3 separate regions of the Homo sapiens genome follow, and regions 1 and 2 are each linked to region 3. Evidence: promoter capture Hi-C in 16 types of primary human blood cells and fetal thymus (Javierre and others, 2016). All regions are on one chromosome and are shown on one strand. Each heading gives the region's core, a stretch centred on a gene start or on the middle of the fragment in contact. The rest is flanking DNA. Distances are from core to core; before and after follow the strand shown. Region 1 has its middle 26 kb from the start of MMADHC-DT. Region 2 overlaps MMADHC (metabolism of cobalamin associated D). Region 3 holds the start of ORC4 (origin recognition complex subunit 4).

The links. The method cuts DNA at HindIII sites, captures the fragments that hold promoters and counts their contacts. A CHiCAGO score of 5 or more calls a contact.
Region 1: a contact is called between a fragment that was not itself captured here and the fragment with the promoter of ORC4 in region 3, in 1 of 17 cell types (total CD8 T cells). The highest score is 5.8, in total CD8 T cells.
Region 2: a contact is called between a fragment that was not itself captured here and the fragment with the promoter of ORC4 in region 3, in 5 of 17 cell types (total B cells, naive CD8 T cells, total CD8 T cells and 2 more). The highest score is 14.0, in total B cells.

What each region holds. Positions count from the first base shown.
Region 1 is chr2:149,559,872-149,562,912 of GRCh38, forward strand. No RefSeq gene overlaps it. Among named protein-coding and RNA genes, the nearest start is that of MMADHC-DT, 26 kb to the right of the region's middle. The HindIII fragment of the contact is 2,763 bases long and covers 331-3,041 here.
Region 2 is chr2:149,580,458-149,583,713 of GRCh38, forward strand. MMADHC (metabolism of cobalamin associated D) reads right to left here. Exons shown (of 8, transcript NM_015702.3): 3 at 1,670-1,814. Among named protein-coding and RNA genes, the nearest start is that of MMADHC-DT, 5.3 kb to the right of the region's middle. The HindIII fragment of the contact is 315 bases long and covers 1,151-1,465 here.
Region 3 is chr2:148,019,221-148,022,374 of GRCh38, forward strand. ORC4 (origin recognition complex subunit 4) reads right to left here and starts at 1,517. Exons shown (of 14, transcript NM_181741.4): 1 at 1,413-1,517. It overlaps MBD5 (methyl-CpG binding domain protein 5), which reads left to right and starts at 1,871. Exons shown (of 14, transcript NM_001378120.1): 1 at 1,871-2,464. RefSeq lists enhancers at 1,162-1,759, 1,939-2,038 and a silencer at 1,429-1,588. The HindIII fragment of the contact is 3,631 bases long and covers 575-3,154 here.

The DNA of each region.
Region 1 (3,041 bases), core at 462-2,961, 1.5 Mb after region 3:
ATGCTGCTATGTGACAGATGCATTCCTAGGAAATCTTGCATGATAAAAAAAAATTAATAGACCAAACAGGAATTTTAAATGCATACCATTATTGTTTCTGAAGAAATTTCAATAATAAAGGTGCTTTCTTATACCCGTAAGTGTATAACTATGAAACCTAAATATTAATGAGCAAATATAGTATTTTATCATATCAAAAGACCTTTCTTTATTAGTCCTGGCACTACCACTAGCCAGAACTTCTTGCCATTTATATAATCACCGATACAATAAATGGAGCAGAGCTGCTCAAATAAAGAGTACAATGAGTTTCCCTTTTCAGAGTGGAGAAGCTTCCTAATTAAGACTGCATTGCAAATACATTACCATGTAATGCAAATTGATGGAATTATAAAAGTCTATACTGTAATTAAAAATTTTTTTCATAAAAAATAAAATGTTAAAGTCACTTACCTGAATTATCAGAAATTGCCAATTAGACAAGAAGTAGTTCATGGACTAAGACCCAGAAAAGCTGTATTCTAGATTTGCCAATTCTAACCTTGGGCAAATCATTAAACTTTTCAAGGCTTGAGTTTTCTCATCCAAGAAATAAAGGGCAGGACTAGACAATTTTTAAGACCTCCCAAATCAATATTTTTATACTCTTTTATTTTTCTTGTCTACAAGGCTATTATTTGTGTGAAGTTATGTTACTTACTTACTTTGACCTTGAAGTTCAATGTGTCTATTCCCACATAACTTTTCAAATAATTAGAATATAATTTCTTAATATTAAAATAATTATAAATCTTGAGTTTTCTTTTACTATTCACAAGACACTTTGGATTTTGCCATGGTCTGTTCTAAATACTGCATAGTAACATGACAAAATTGAATTGGTTCATTTTTTCATGCAGTTTCTCTGCATTTCACATAGTATGTTTTTAATGACTCTGTAACACCATAATACATTACTACACTTCTAAAGTTCAATAGTTTACCCTTACTAATTTTTTGCTTTCATGTCAGAGCCACACTCCCCCCCCGCTTTTTTTTTTTTTTTGGCAGGAATGGAGGCACTAAATAATTGCTTAACAACTAAAAATTAATTTTAAATCTCAGATCATGTCGGATCTTTTGACTAAACACAGTACTCCCAATTCCAGGATTTCTTGACTGCGTGCTGGTGAGAAAGAATTTGACCATCTCACACCAGGTCTTTTTGCTGCCTCTTGCCTTATTTCCCTAAGTGCCTAGGAGTGCTCCCTTATCTTTCTTCTGATTCAAGACACTAGATTGTATTGTGACACAGATTGATACTTTTCTAGAAACTCACAATTTTAAAAATGATAAAAATTACATGTATAATGATTGAACAACATGACCCTGCATCAGGCATTCATTTTCTATTTCATAGCTCAAGTAATGGCATCTAGGAAATAGCACTAGAAAAAAATGCTAGTTTCTAAAAAGTCAAAACAATGAAGTAATTATCAATGTACAGGAACTTTTCTTTCTAAATGGTTTACATTTCAAACATGCAGAATTGATAAGGTAATTTTTTTTTTCTTGGCCAAACTACAAGCCTCAAATTTGAGGAATTTCAAGGTAATTAAATGGTGCCACCTATTGGCCAAATGTATCACTGCAGCCTATCTTTTTAAATATAGAGGATGTTCAATAAAGTTGGCAAAATCCTAAGTGCAAAATTAGAGGTTCTTATCCATTTGAGACAGTCACATTTGTGAATAAATTTTAATGCAATATTTTAAATTAGATAACATATCTCAAATATATAGCTATTTTGTTGTTAGAAGGTTTGTCCACAAGGGGGGTGTGTGTGTGTATGTATGAATAAGAAATACATATATATGCTCATGAAAAGGACACTCATTGTAGCATTAGGTTATTTTTCACTCTGAAATGGAGGGGCATACTGGAAAAGCTAATAGCTAAAGGCAATCCTGGACTTACAATAGCTCTTTCTGCTGGTTGGGACTAAACAGTACCTACAACACTGGGGATCTAGTATTGGAAATGACTGTAATAGTTTTTTCATACAACTTATGGAATTAGTTAATCTCAGTGATTTTCAGTTATCCTTCATAATACAGTATCAGAAAAGGGGTTCTCATAGTAGGCTTCTACAGAGTCTTTAACTTGCCCATGAAAATAAATGTCACTTTAAAATGAAAGCCAGAATTAATTTAAGAAGCAGGCCACGAGTTCTGGTAGCCCTAAAGAATAAACTGCTTCTTTTTTGCTTTATTGTGACTCTCCTAATTTGTTGAGAGGAATATTAGTTGTATCTCTATTTTAGATTCCATGACCAACTTGCAGGTTTTTTTTTTCAATATGCTAAAATATTTTTTGCTTCTTAGAGACACTGTCTTGAATTAACATGGACTTTTGGCTAATCTACATAAAACTACACTGTAGGTTAACCTACATTTATTCTAAAAAAACTGTAACATAAATAGAGAGCAATCTAGAAGCCAAGTGCTCATTCATTTGAGATTAATTGCCTCTTCAGATCACTAATTCATGCTCCAGTGTCCCAGGAGAGTTATTTCCCATGAGTGACCACTTGACTCAGAAGGTATTTTAACTCATCCAGGCTTCGTACAGGACAAATCTTATTACTGTAACTTAGTTACACGGCCATAAACATAGTTTCCCTTTCTCTTTCTCAGCTTGTTTACTTAGTACCAGAAGAAAGTCTCCTCTGTGACCACTGGTGACTTAACTCAGTTTGAATGGGCACAAATCCAGCAACTGACAACATTGTGTGACACTGAAAATTGAGTTCATATTATTTAAAATAACTTTAAACAAGGGTAAATGAAGTCACATTCACTGTAAGCAAACAAGGAATAGACCTCATGTCCTTCTGCAATCAAAAAGGGATGTGAAAAATAAAATTCTTATAAAATTGTTGTTGATTTCAATGTCGAAGATCTTAGTCACAAATTTAAAACAAACAGGAGAGATAAAATAGCAATTAATGAACAGTAACCATGAACCTTCAAAGGCAACAACCTGAAATTATAAACTGATGA
Region 2 (3,256 bases), core at 58-2,557, 1.6 Mb after region 3:
TCACTTAAAACTTTAAAAAAAATCCTAACTTATAAAAAATTCAGAAAGATTCAGAAAAGAATAAAGTAGAAAATTAAACTAATAATTACTCAGAGTAGAGATCTGGGCTTAGAGAAACAGAGGGACAACTGCTATGCATATTACTTAGCAATAAAAATAGATATTTAAAAATATCCTGTCAGAGAACTAAGTAACTGAGAATGGCCATGTCAGCATGGCTGTCTCATTCCTGGATCATGAGCCACCATATCCCTCTTCCACACTTAGGACATACATCACCCATCAATCATGGAACCATTTCCTGCTGAACCCAGACAACGTCTCAAGATTCTCAACATAAACACTCTAGTCCAGTGCCCCTCAAACTCTAAAGATGTACTTAAGATACATCTGGGATCTAGTTTAAATGCAGATTCTGATTTAATAGGTCTGGAGTGGGGCTCAAGATTTTGTATTTCTAACAAGCTCCTAAATGATACTGATGCAGATCATGTTGAATAACAAGGCTCTATCTAGACAGCCACTAATGACTACTCAAGTCACTTCCCAAGAGAAAACCTGTTAGCTATTTTTGAACAAGATGGTTTTTAAAAGTCTAACAATCCCTAGATTCTCTTTACAGAAAACAAGCATCCCATATTAATAGTAGATTTGGGCAGTGGATTTGACCATATGTTTACTGGTCATTTTAGGTTTTGTTTTCTGTGAAAGGCCTATTCATGTCCTTTTGTTTTCTGATTTTCTGTTGGGTTATCTTTTCCTATTGATCTATTATAAATTCTTTATATATTCCAGATACTAACATCTTATATAATTTGAATGGCAAAATCTTTCATTTATTATAAATATATGGTTAGTCTTTAGGTGATGTAAATTGGGGAGTAGTCAGAGAGTTAGAAAACTTGGGCAGGATGGAAGGCTCTGAATGCTCAAGTGAACTTAAATTACGTTGTAAGTAATGTGTGCCATGAAAAAAGGATTCCATGTCCAATATCTTTAGGACACATTAGGTTAAGTTTCTAAGAGTCTTTAATATTTTAGTGTGCCTTATAAGCCTCCAAGGCAGGAATATGGCATGTAGCATTTCTCAAACTTACCTACCACAGAGACTATCCCCCTACCCCCACTTTTTCTTTTTAACCTTGAACAAAGCTTCATGGCTTGAAGGTAGTCTGGGAACTACTGCTGAAAGCAATGAAAGATAACAGGTTTTTCAAGAAAGGGACATGGTTAAAATAATTTAGAATGATTAGCATGGTAGTGGTGTACCAAACAGGTTAGAAGAAACAGACTTTGTAGAAAGCAGGTAAGTTCAATAAACACTAACACATAAAAAGTACAAGGTACATTTATGAAATCTAGCAAAGAATGGGAAGAAATAATAATATGGTTTAACAGGACCAAAAGGAGATTTGTTTCAGGGAAGACTCTATGTTTGAAGACAGAAAGAAAAGTTTAAGAAGTAAGCTTTAGAAACCAGTACTTACTCTTTTTTCAATACTGTAGCTTTCTGACATAAATATATTTAGGCAGAGCTGTGATTCATTTTCAACTGAACAAACACAACTTTAGAAAAATCCATTAAGCCTTAAGAAGAAATATTAGAGGAAAATACAACTAAAAATGTTTTGAAACAATTATAAGTAAAGCAGTAACAACTTTCACTTACATATATCTGGAGGTGCAGCAGCCACATGAGACTCATCCGAACCTGATGATCCTGCAGTCGAAAAGGCTTTGGGATTGACAACCCTTTTAACTAAAGAGCAAAATCCTGGGAGATAGGAAACCAGTCTGGCTCTGTTACAAAGCACCTAGAAATGACACAAAATTAAAACTATTTGTTCTGAATATAAATGTTATACTTACATAGACAATCTCTGGCAAATCTTCACACTGCAAGGTTCTTTTAAAACCAACATTTATTCTACTTTTACTGAACACCTACTATATGAAAGCATTATATATATTTGTAATTTTAAAAATAAAAATAAAAATTAAAAAAACAAGTAATAAGTTAGTTTGGGTAAAAGCCTATGTACTTTTCAATAAAGGCTAGAATTCAAGAGTGCCACACATGAGAGAATAGACATCTAAAAGTTGTCTTATTTAGACACAACACTAAAAAGGTAGCACAACTAACAAGATTCTTCTATCCTCAATAAAGAACTCTCAAGACATCTCTTTGGACCAAAATCTGTTACTTTCGAACTTTTCTCTCTTCTTTTACTGCTATAAATTGCGCTAATTCTCTCCCATACTGTCCTTTCATTGTGGTTTCATGGCAATGTCTGCTTTTCTCCATTTCAGCACGTATCTTTGTGGTATATTTTTTTCTGCTTATATGTTCACTTACTAGACAGTGAGGTCATGTATTACAATGGATGAATGTGTAAATATCTTTCATTCATAAATTTTTTAACAATCTTTCATTCATAAATTTTTTAACAAAGTACTTGGGTCAGAACAATTTAATGCAGGGATTGGCGAACGATTTCCCAATACAGCCCACTGTTTTGGTAAATAAAGTTTTACTGTAACATAGACATACTAATTTATGTACTGCCTATGGTCACTTTCCCACGACAATGGCAGAGTTAAGTAGTTACAAGAGATATTCTGTGGCCCACAAAGCCTAAAATATGCACTATCCGGATATTTGTATTAAAAACACACATACACACAGACATTGGCAACTCTCAGTTTAGTGAAAAAGATGTAAAAACAAATATCAAATCATCTGTGAAATGCTATGAAAAGATCTGAATAATTGTTAAGAAATCCTTGGGAGAAAAGGTAATAAATTTCATGGAGGATATACTAAATTTTGAATACAGTAAAAATTTGCTTGGGAAAAGGTGCATTTCAATGAGTGACTTTCAGGAACAAAGGAATAAAGACATATTTCAAAGAGTGACAAATTCAGTGAGGGTAGGTATAAGAATGCAATTAAAAAAAGGTTTGAAATTGAACTTATGGGCAACTATAAAAGACTGTATATTTGACACAGATGGTAAAGGGCTTGTTACATCAAGATAGTAAGTCGGAATTTTAATTTGTAGGCAGGAAAGAGTCAGAGCAAACTGACAAAAACAAAGGCTGTTTTAAGAAATGTACCACTAAGGGCAGTATAAAAAATGGACTGGAGGAGGAGTAGAGAGGTGGTGTGAAAATCAGTTACCAGGATGTTGGAAAAATCCAGCCATCTGACACCTGAGAATTATTCTATTTCCTTTTCACAAAGTACAGTATTCTA
Region 3 (3,154 bases), core at 267-2,766:
ACGGGGTCCACTGCCCAAACTTACAGAAAGCAAAACGTGGAAAATTAGTAACTTTAACTGATAGTGTACACCTAAAGAACCTACACCGGCCGGGCGCGGTGGCTCACGCCTGTAATCCCAGCACTTTGGGAGGCCGAGGCGGGAGGATCATTTGAGGTCAAGAGATCGAGACCAGCCTGACCAACATGGTGAAACCCCGTCCCTACTGAAAACACAAAAAAATTAGCCAGGCGTGGTGGCACATGCCTGTAGTTTCAGCTACTCGGGAGGGTGAGGCAGGAGAACTGCTTGAACCCAGGAGACAGAGGTTGCAGTGAGCCGAGATCGCGCCACTGCACTCGTCTGGGAGACAGAGCGAGACTCCGTCTCAAAACAAAAAACAAACAAAAAGAACCCACCCAACAGAATTAAGTACCAACATAATAAATACGAAGAATTTTAGATTCTTGGTTTTTAAAAAACATACAAAGATGATATTCCTTCAAAATATCTTTACAAAACATATTGAGACTGTGATGCTTTATATTGATTGTATGAAAACAATGAAAAAGAACCAGCACTGTTTCACTATAAAAGCTTTACTAATGTAAATTTATAAATCCTTTCTTAAATATTTTGAGTTAATTCTAATTTTATGATAGAAATTCATTATTTTCAGCAAAAACAGCTGGCATTTGGGAAACCAAAGGCTCAAAAACTAAGAATAGTAACCAAAGAAACTTGACAAAACAGTCCTTTTAAAACTCTCATCTACACTATAAGGGGAAACTTTGATCACGTCCCTTCTCCTTCATCAATCGTAGAACTCAACATTAAGGACTACACAATCCCACATCCCTCTCCGAGAAAAAGCAAAGGCTTTGTGTTGTAGCAACAACGCAAGACATGGAGGGAAGCTCCACTCAAGACTTCCCTGCCTGCTCCTTCCCCAAAGCCACTCCAGAATACCAGGGAGGGTTGAGAGGTAAGGCATGAAGGGCGCAATATCCAATATGAGCAACGCGTGTGATGCATCTGGTCAAAATGCATACAGAGGACTTGTCTCTGTCCCTAGATAGAAGTCCTCCGTCCTGCAGTCATGAGGGTCAATTGCTGAGGCTTCACAGTTCCCTTCTCTCTTACACTCGGACCGTCACGCTCCTCACCTACTACCCCGATGCAGAGGTAGACTCAGGATCCCTGCACTTGTCAAGGATTCCTCGGCAAGCTCACGGGGCGGGAGTGGCCACAAGACGGAGCTCGCCTGGTCCTGGCCTTCCCGGCCTATACAAGCCTGCCCCCTTCCCAATTCCCAATCTCCACAGCCTTCCATCCTCCCACTTTCGATTCACCTTGCGCCACCGACGCCCCTGGCCTTCGTTTGCAGCAAGTTTACCCCCACCATTACCTCTCGCATAAAAGCCTGCATTTACCAGGTCAAAGAGGGGAACCAACGCCTGCAGGAATCGCTTCACCGAATCGCCTGGCCGCGTCCTCTGCTAGACTTCACCTGCCGCTGCGGACCGTACACAACCACTCCCGGCATGCCCCGCGCACGCACTACCTCTCCCACCCCGCCCCTCTCCCGCCCAAACACGTGACCTCCTTTCGTCTCCGTCCACGCCCACTTCCGTTCCTCCACTTTCCCTTAGGAAGGAGGAGGGAGCTGGGGGTGTTAAAAGCGTAGCGACTTCCTCCTCCTCCCCGCCCCCGCTCCTGTACCTCCCGCTACAATGTCTTCCGGGTCGCTAGCGCCTCGACGCCTTCTGGGAAAATAGCTCATTTCCTCCCCTCCCCCTCCTCCTGCCTTCAACCAACCAGCCACCCGTCAGAGAGGGACATGCGCAGTGAGTGCCTCCCGTCTCTTCTACCCGAACCCCCCCTCCCCCCCAAGCAGAGAGACCCCAGCAGCAGCAGCAGCTGATGATGAAGAGAGAGGCAGTGGCAGAGGGGGGGCACCTTTTATTTCTATTTTTAAAGGGACAGGACACTAATTCTACCCCACTTCAACCTTGAATTCAGGGGGGTGGGGGGAAGGCGGCTGAGTTCCTTCCCCCACCCTCCAGCCCTGAGCCCTGAGAGGGGGATTGAGCCTGAGAGAGGAGAAGGAGTTTCTTCTTCTTCGAAAACCCCCATCCACGACTCCTACCCCCTCACCCCTCCAACTCGCCTCCCTCCCTCCACCCTCCTCCTCTTTGGCCGTGAGAGGAGGAGAGAAAGAAACCAAAAGCCTCTTAGCAACACAGACCCTTTGCTGCTGCTGTTGCTGCTGCTGCTGCTGTTGCTGCTGCTGCTGCTACTGCTGCTGCTGCTACTGCTGCTGCTTGGCCCTGGCTGGAGACATCTCACTACACCCAGGAGCAGCCACTTCCCCAGCTCTCCTCCTCCTCCTTCGCCTCCTCCTCCTCCACTCCCCCCCTTTATTACCCTTTGTGTCATCCTCCACAGCTCCAGGGAAGGCACTCAAAAGTGGGGGGCAGGAAAGGTAAGTGTGTCTGTGGGGGCTTCATTGCCTTCCTCTGGCTCTGACTTTCACTCCGGGGCAACAGTAGCACCAAACCACATACGCAGTGGAGCTCCGGGGTGAGGAGGGGGTGGTGCTGGGGGGGGTGAAGGAGGGGTTGGAGTAGGGAGGGGTGTGTGAGGTGGGGTGCCCATCCTGTCAGGGGAGGAAGGGCACTTTTATTTTTATTTGCTGTTGTCAAAAGTGGTTTCTCTCCTCCATCTAACATCTGATTGTGTCTTGCTCCAGTGGGGGAGAATACAAAAACAACCCCCTCCTTCCTCCAATGAGGCGCCAGGGAAAGAGACAGAAAGAGGCACACTTTCTAGATGTCACTTAAAAAAAATTCATTGGAGAGCTCTTTTTCTCCAGGAAAAGCTCCACTGCATTTGTTTCTGAGTGGGAAAATGTCGGGATCTGGATTGTATTGGAACTGCTTATCCATTTGTAGACCTGAGTGTTTTCCCCTTTTTGGTCCTGTATGAGATTTGGATATTGACTTCAGTGTTGGAAGACTTGATTGGTTTTTGCTTTAAGGGTTTCATTTTCCATTTTTTCGTTTTGTCTGACTTCCATGGAAAATTTCAAATTTTTAGTTGGTAGAGGCCTTTGGTTAGGTTTTGACTTGCATTATTGCTTTTTTTTTGGTTAAATGTCTGTTTCATATATCAG